Linked DNA regions of Homo sapiens: all the other regions are linked to region 2. The links are contacts of gene promoters, found by promoter capture Hi-C in blood cells and fetal thymus (Javierre and others, 2016). All regions are on one chromosome and are shown on one strand. Each heading gives the region's core, a stretch centred on a gene start or on the middle of the fragment in contact. The rest is flanking DNA. Distances are from core to core; before and after follow the strand shown. Region 1 holds the start of CYB5R4 (cytochrome b5 reductase 4). Region 2 has its middle 1.6 kb from the start of BCKDHB. Region 3 holds the start of CEP162 (centrosomal protein 162).

Region 1 (2,700 bases), core at 156-2,655, 3.8 Mb before region 2:
CTGTTATTCAGTCAAGTATTTAGCTTCAAGAAATAGGTCAAAAACCAATGAGAAAAATATACATGATTGGATGGCTAGATGATTGATATATGAATCAGTAAATGAAATTTCACAGCAGAACCACAACACAAGCCTACGCAATTTAGGGCAATATTTCTTAGCCAGTTTCCTTTTCTGCGAAATAGAGACAATAAAAGCTTTCACTTCAAAGGATAATTGTGAAAATTAAAGTTAATACATGCAAAGCACTGAGAATATACACGGCCACCCGTAAGTACTTAAGAAATCTCTGGAAAGCTAATGAAAACCACAGATCCCTGAACCTATATTCATTCTGAACTAGAATCAGAACGCCAGGTCTAAGTGGAGAAAAATAAGAAAATCGATAAGGGTTCCAAACGATGCTAAGACTCAAGAGTTAACCGAGTGGCCCAAGTTAAGTGGAAGTGTCACAAACGAAAGATAAAGATATGGTTACAGAATGAGGAACTAACAAATAGGAACAAACAACATTCGCAAAAGAACAAAGAACACAATTTTTATTGAATTCTGCAAATATAAAATATATCTGTACAGTATTCCACCTGTTGCTAACAGCAACTGTGCTCAACAAGAACTCAAGAGTATTATTATATTTGCTTCGAAGTTAGCAAGTGATACTAGTAGAAAAGGCAATGACAAAACAATCAGGTACCAGAGGAAGAAAGAAAGGCAGTATGTCTTGGATAGTGTCTGTAAACCTGACCTAGCTCCCCAACTCCAGAAGTCCCCATCCTTGCACGGACGGTCACTGTCGCCACTGCCAAGCCTTTCCCTCCTGCGAGGGAACCCACATCGAGTGATGTGGTACAACTCCTTCAGGCAGTGAAGAACAAAAGACCAGGGAGAAGATGAGGTTGAGGGAAGGCGGCTAATACCGAGAGCCTATAATACCGCAAACACAGTGCCTGGCTCTGTCATATAAATTTAAATCGCGGGAAAGGACTTGGAGGAAGGGAACGGATAGAGCGGGATAAAGGACCAGAAAGAAGAGGGACTGCTAGGGGAAAGGGAGGAGGTAAGGAGAGTTTAGGGACTGTAGACAAAGTGGGATCAGAAAGAGGTTGCAGGCAAGGACAGCAGGGAACGACAGCTTAGAGAGGGGTGCAGGAGCTGGGAGTTGGGGCGGAAGAAGAGAACACACTGCCAGAGCTCGAAACGCAGCGAGGGGAGAGACTCACGGAGCCACCCGCTTACCTTGCTACGCCCCCCGGAGGCGACACGCTGCTGCGACCTGGGGGCCGGGAAAGACTGGGAAGGGACGTTCAGCATCTTCAAACCCCGGCCCCGGGCCCTGCCCGGGGATCGCCGCCAGACGGGACAGCACCTCCAGCTCCGGCTCTGTGGCCGGGCAGAGGCCAAGCCCCCGACCCACTTCCGGGGTCGCCAGGGGTGAGGCGCATTCTGACGCAGCACGTCCGCGGAGGGCGGAGCCAACGGGACGGAGGGAGGGCCGGCAGGGAGGAAGTACGCATGCTCAGCTAGTTCCGCATCCCGAACTTCAGCACCGGAGCAAGGTGACAGCTATTTCGTGGAAAGATTAGAGAGTGAAGCTGTTCCTTAGCCTTGGTGCTGACCGAATGTGGGAACAAATTCTTAGTCCTGTTAACCCGGAACAGCAATGTCTGTTCATTGTTAAGCAGTACCATCACACTACTTGAAATATGGACTAAAACACACTACTTGAAATATGGACTAAAACGAATTTTAGTTTCTCTGAAATTCTTTCCTGTAAGGCACTAGGCTGTAATGCAAAGAGCATCTCACACCTTTAAGAGCAAAAATATCAAATGTCAACAGCCACTACTGTGGGGTAAGAAGAAAACCTCACCTTTAATCATCCTTAAACTTCACCTTTAAGCATGCTGAGGGCTAATGAATGCGCGAAAGACGTTAGTAAAGTCACCTTCTGCTCTATTCACCCACTCACAAATTCTCCCTCCTTATGTAACTTCCTGTCTTCACTGGGAATTGTGTACTGATGCAGCTCACCTCCAGCTGTGGTGATGAAGTAACGTTTAAAAGTCAGATTTGGTTTGCATGCCATCCCTGCACTTAATGACTGAGCTGTCTTATGCAAGTTACTTTAGTATCTCAAAGTCTCATTTTCCCCATCTGCATAATGGGTTTATTAAAGATTAAAGGATCATGTGTAAACTACATACTGCAGTGCCTGATTAATATTAGGTACTGAATAAGTGGCAGTGGCTGTTTGTGCTATTCCAACATATTAATGGGAAAAGGACCAACACTGTGCAGGTAAACACCAGGCTCTAATGCTCAAAATCTGATGGTTTTTGTTTGTTTGATTGATTGTTTTGTGTGTCCCTTGGGGAACACATAGATCTTGAGAGTAGAATCCAATAAGGGAGAAAGTTTTCAGGAGAAGAAACATAGTTCTAAATAATCCTCCCCATCCTCCTTTAATTACTAATTTTTCCTAACTCTGAACATATTGTCATGCTTTAAACTTTCTCTGTTTAACTACTTAGTTCTTAAAGTGCCTAAAAAATCAAGGTTATGTTTGCAGAATCAGAAGAAAAAGTGTGTGACTATATGTGGCCATTCAAATACAAGCATTCAAATAAGGTAGCCACCTATGACATTCACCTCTATCCATTTTTATTTGCAATTGAAATGCTTATTATGAGAAGACTGAAT
Region 2 (2,700 bases), core at 101-2,600:
GGTGAGGACCCGAGTTTGCAAAGTTCCACACAGTGCCTGGAGGCGATCTTTTCCGGTGTCATTTACAGTGCCATTTCCAATGGTTTAACATCCATACTTTTTTTTAAATGTAACCCTTTTTTATCCTGTCCTGTCTCTATTATTGTGTGAGAGGTGAAGAGAGCTACTGATTGGCATTGGTTATTGTTTTGACTTTCGAAAAACTGCTGTAGTCACTGCTCAAAGCTTTCACTCCTTATTCACACCCTCCTTAAAATGCTTAATAAGCATATATAGATTTTTATTGATTTCGTTTTTCCACATTTAAATGAGAGATGAAAGAGGTAAACTTAGATTTCATCCTGCAAATCCACTGAATAGGAATTCAGATACATTTTGCCCAGAAGTAGCAAAAATTACCTGATTGGCTTAGTCTAAGTAGCTTAGAAACCTGGAGAATTTGAGTCACTAATTTTCATTTATAGTAATCAACTATGTAAATTTGTTTTAATCTAAGTGTTTACCAGGATACATTCTCTGTCCATGAATTTACTAAAAAAAAAAAAAAGCACATAAAACATGAAATATCATAAAATCAAATATGACAAGAGACAACAGAGACAGTGTGTCCATCAGATGAAAATGGGAGGGTGGGGAAGGATGGTCCCAAAACAGAATTTGAAGAAGAAAGTGGGAGTGGAGGAAAAGAACATTCCTCTTCCATTATGCCTTGCCTCTTAACCCATCTTTGGTTTTGCACAGGGGCAAGGGAGGAGAGGGTAGAAATGGGGCAAAAGGAGAGGCAGAGAAATGTGTTTTCTGACTGAGATTAAGAAACAGCAATTGAAAACTGCCAAAGGGAGAACCAGAATTATGTCTCCATTTTTCCTACCCCCACACTAAGTCCAAAAATTCAACATTGGGGAAATTTTTTATCTTGGCTTTTGTTAGTGTTCATTTCTGCTGTTTTAATAGTGTGGGGTAGAGTGTTTTGCATGTGCATGAAGGGTATTTTTGTTTTAATGAAGGAAGGGGTAACAAAATGAAATTACATTTACATAGTCAAATTTGGGTTTAAACTAAGGAGAGTAAAGAACAAGGATAAAAATGAATAGAGCTTTTTTTCTATTTGTTGATAGTTTAGGGAGCTGGGGGTACTGAGATTATTTAGGTCGGGGAGAAAAAGAGAAAAATAATAACTGATGAGAATTTTATTGAACCTCTGCTACGTACAACCCAATGACAAGCCACCATTGAGACAAATAAGATCAAGGCATAGTTTTACTTCTAAAATGTCCAAGGTGGTAGAGAAAAGAGACAGATTAGGCAACTACAATCCAATGTGATAGGAGTCCTAGAATAGTGCAAACAAAGTGAAACACAAAAAGAGCAATAAACTCTTATTTGAAAGTCAAGTGTTTCCAGATATAACTCTGAGCTAGACCTAAAAGATGACTAGAAGTTACCAGGCAGACTAGGGAGAAAATGGCATTCCAAACTAAGAAGAAACCTGTATAAAGGCTGATAGGCATGAAGAGCACAGTGCATTCCAGGAAGAGAAAATAGCTTGGTGCTTCTAGATTCAGGGTGTAGGGAATGATACAGGGTTAACAGAAAAAGTAGGAAAAACAGATTAAAGGGAGATTTTGAAGGTCTAAGAGGTTTGAACTTTCAACTACATGCAGCCAGGAAAAACAAACAGAGCACCTGCCAGATTCACCTGTTTTGCAAACTGATTTTTTAAATTTTCCCCATCTCTACCACACCATTTGCCTGGTAACCATGAAAATGTCTATGTTATTACAGTGGGACTTTCCTCCATTCCCCTTGCCCTGGCCACATTTACTCAATTTGGGAAACTGTCCTTTTCTGGGAATTTTGGAAGTGTAGTTTAGAAAGAAAGATCAGATTATCTTTAAATGCCACTAGGAACTGCAAAAAATGGGAGTTTTCAGTAATTTCGTGAACCAGAAAAGGTGAAGAGTGTGATTATATTTGAGTTCCTGATTCCATTTATTCCCAAGGCCTAACTGCTTTCTGGTCCTGGGGTTCTATGAGACATCACCGTATCCTTAAAATGTATTCCCCTCTTTGTTTAAGCTATTTCCAATTGCAGAACCCATGACTATGGAGTTGGAATACAAAGCAAAGTTGCTCTTCACCCTTCAGAATGACTCTTGCATCACTTGCTCTCACTGAGCTTCACTACCTGTGCAACTTGTACCTGTTTAGTCTCAGCTTGCTTTTAGACGACCATTTTATATAGCAAGATGATAGTTTTGCAGTATTACATCCTGGCATCTGCCTCCTTTCAAACTCAAACAGAGGTATCATGGAGGCAGAAAAAAAAGAAATCAAATTATTGCTTTTGAATTTTAAAATAGATTTTAAACTTGATAGCAGAGACAATAATTTGAGAGAAAAGTTTGAATTCTACAGACTGGTTTCTGAGTATTAAACCTCAAAAACCTGAATGAGTTAGGAAACAAAGCTTAGGGCTAAAAGAAAAGATTGTAAATCACATACCAGTATAAGAGATGGTTTGTCTCACCTTCCATGGAGGTACAGCTATAGATTAGAAAGACCTGTAGGTATCCTCCTTTGTAGATGAACCTAGAAAAGTATCACTAAATCCTCAGGCTACCCAGCATGTCATGGCATTTGAAACAGCAGGATGCTTCTCCCATGTGGCCAAGAGAGATGCAGCTATGGCAACAAGAT
Region 3 (2,700 bases), core at 193-2,692, 4.1 Mb before region 2:
ATTAAAAAAAAAGAAAGAAAGAAAAGAAAAAAAGAAAAAGAAGAAAAGAAAAGAAATTCTAACATTTAGAGGTCAGCTAGGATAGACAGAGACAGTGAAAACCCTTGAGGGGAGGCTATAAATGTGAAAGAAAAACCAAGAAAGAGAGGAGACAAGTGTATCAAATAGTATTGGGAGATCAAATAAAGCGCTGTCATATATGTACACTTACACACACAGAGACAGGATTAAAAGGTCTGACAAAAGGGAGGTAAAGTGGAAATAATTCCTCAGAAAAGATTGGCAAGTAAGGTGAGGAGACAGATCATTTCAACCACTGGGAAATAATAGCATGAAGAGAATGTGTCAGAAGTGATGTTTTAGGTGGGGATCTCAAGGCATGTTCAAATGCTGTTAGGAAAAATCCCACAGCCAGCCAGAAGTCGAAGATACAGGATTAAGGGAAATGACCAGTGGAACAAGATCAGTGAGAAGAAGAATGGGTAAAGGCTCTAGATCATATGTGGGAAGGTAAGTCTTTGATAGAAGGTGGCAGGAAGTCAACTTCTCAATAAATGGTAGCTTAAGATATTTCTTTTATTATTCATATTTGCATCATAGTCCACAGCTCCTGGTTTGTACATATTTGTATTGCAAGAAAGACTTGATGAATAAACAGTTCTAGCTAAAGATGAGGTCCTGAACTAAGTCTACCATCAGCAAAACCTGCAGCTGTTGTAGATTTTACTTACACTATGCTAAATGTTGTCCTCTGAAACTCCAGCTAATGTTGCATGCTTTGAAAAAAAGAAAAGAAATAGAAAACAAAATCCAAGTCAGTAATTGTGAAATGCCAGTAAAGAATGCAGTTTTGAAAAGTAGGGGTAGCGGGAGGAGCAATAACTTAATAAGAATCTTGCTGTTTGCGTATTTTCGATTTCTTGCCCACTAGGTGGTGGAACAGAGTCCCCATCTAAACGACAGTTTTTTTCCTCACAGGTTTGTGTTTCTCTCACAATGCCTACACAGGTCTTTGCAGGCCAAAGAAATCCAAGAAATTCAATCTCTTCAAAATTGCCCCTTGGAAAAACAGAGCGCTCGAATGACAAGTGTGGGGAAGGCGGGAGGCGACGATGCGGAGTGCGGAAACACAAGGACCAGGGGAGCTAAACTACATTTCCCAGAAAGCCACGGGCTGGCCTACAACCACCGCGCCCTCCAAGCCTGCTGGAAGCCTCCGTCTCGCTTCTCCAGTAACCGGTTTGCCGCTGTCCCCTTTTCTAAGGAACGTAGAGAAAGCCAGGGAAGGAAAGGCATTTTACTGCAGCAGCGAAGGTTTAGCCACTAGAGTGTCTTTCTCAGCCGTGGTTATTCCGACCTTCGCTTGTAAAGGCATTGGGAAACCCACGGCCCACGTGACCAGCCCGGGTCATGTGACTCCAGAACCCGGCAGCTGAAGTCTGTTACCCTGACAACTGGTGGACCCGCACAGACCTTCCGGGAAAGCGCGGAATTCAGAGGCAGAGGTAGGTGGTAAGGTGTGAACGCTGGTTTCCCACCCAAATCGCCCTGGTCGAGGCCGTGCTTCATACTCGAGCGAAGGGCTTTAATTTTCCAGGTCATTCCCCTTCTCCGCCCGGAGCCCACGGCAAATGCGTCTTTGTCTTCCCTCCAATTCCCGAACCCGCGCTTCTGGGGACGGGGTCGCAGCCAGGCTTGAGAAGCTTTTAGTGGAGCTCACCCCTGACCAAGCTATTCAGGCCAAGACCTTAACCGCACTTACCCTGAACTGATCGAAAGTGCAAATGAGGGGAAGAGGTGTTACTCTGCACGATGGGGAGGGTATTGTCCGGGTCTGCAAGCCCTCTTCCCCTCCCCCATCTCTACAGAAGAAAGCTGGGATTTGAGCTGCTCTAGGGAGTTCAGGAGCTGGGGGTCGACCCAAGGTTGGGTTCATTAGGTGTCTAGGGGAACGCTTTCCGTTGCAAATCACTGGATTCTGCTTGTGTTCAGCACATAATTTTTGTCGGTCTTCCCTCGCTTCAAAAGAAACATAGTACTGATTTGTGTACTCCATTAACTTTAAGTATTCTTTAAGTATTTTGACTAAATTACTAATTCTTACTAAATTCTATTTGTGTATATTTTGAAACATCCCCGTATCTGGATACAGTCTGCTTTACGAAACTATGCAGTCTGCTTTACGAAACTATTACTATGGATTGGTAAAATAACGAGCCGAGTGATAAGGCAGCACAAACTGTCGTGTGCTTTGCAAGAAAGAAACAGTCCTTTGGATTTGCTAACTTACAGTTTTTAAGATTCCCTGTGAGGACCTGGTTTGTGTTTGAGAGGTACTAATTAACACATGCACACAAACATAGGTTTGGGAAATATTGTAGAGACCACTCTTTAACAATTGGATGTTAACAGATGAAAACATAATTCTGAACGTTGAGTACAAGACATCCTGTCAAAGCTGCTTTTCCAAATCAGTTTGCTTAATGAATTAGGAATCTCTTGACCAGCTCTTACTGGTTAAAAAAAATTGTGCATATATACTGAATCATAACAAATGTCCGAAGTTTAAGTCTGGTCGTGTTCATGATCTGATGGATTTCCTCAAAAGATGTTTATGTCTCTTGTCATTTAGTGTTTCCAATGTTTGAGGTACTTTAGAATGTTTACTTTGGGAGGTCAAAATTGTTGACTATGGCTAAC

What was found. Contacts are between HindIII fragments. The CHiCAGO score rates a contact against its expected background, and 5 or more counts as called.
Region 1: the fragment with the promoter of CYB5R4 here is called in contact with a fragment that was not itself captured in region 2 in 5 of 17 cell types (naive B cells, naive CD4 T cells, non-activated CD4 T cells and 2 more); the score reaches 6.1 in naive B cells.
Region 3: the fragment with the promoter of CEP162 here is called in contact with a fragment that was not itself captured in region 2 in 2 of 17 cell types (total B cells and activated CD4 T cells); the score reaches 6.3 in total B cells.

Annotation. Positions count from the first base shown.
Region 1 is chr6:83,858,394-83,861,093 of GRCh38, reverse strand. It overlaps CYB5R4 (cytochrome b5 reductase 4), which reads right to left and starts at 1,405. Exons shown (of 16, transcript NM_016230.4): 1 at 1,237-1,405. The coding sequence starts at 1,311. All of the region lies in intron 3 of RIPPLY2-CYB5R4 (RIPPLY2-CYB5R4 readthrough), which reads right to left. RefSeq lists a silencer at 1,285-1,334. The HindIII fragment of the contact is 3,476 bases long and covers 200-2,700 here.
Region 2 is chr6:80,103,715-80,106,414 of GRCh38, reverse strand. No RefSeq gene overlaps it. Among named protein-coding and RNA genes, the nearest start is that of BCKDHB, 1.6 kb to the left of the region's middle. The HindIII fragment of the contact is 2,245 bases long and covers 228-2,472 here.
Region 3 is chr6:84,226,385-84,229,084 of GRCh38, reverse strand. CEP162 (centrosomal protein 162) reads left to right here and starts at 1,442. Exons shown (of 27, transcript NM_014895.4): 1 at 1,442-1,505; 2 at 2,633-2,700. The coding sequence starts at 2,692. RefSeq lists enhancers at 967-1,126, 1,028-1,528, 1,529-2,029. The HindIII fragment of the contact is 5,497 bases long and covers 1-1,705 here.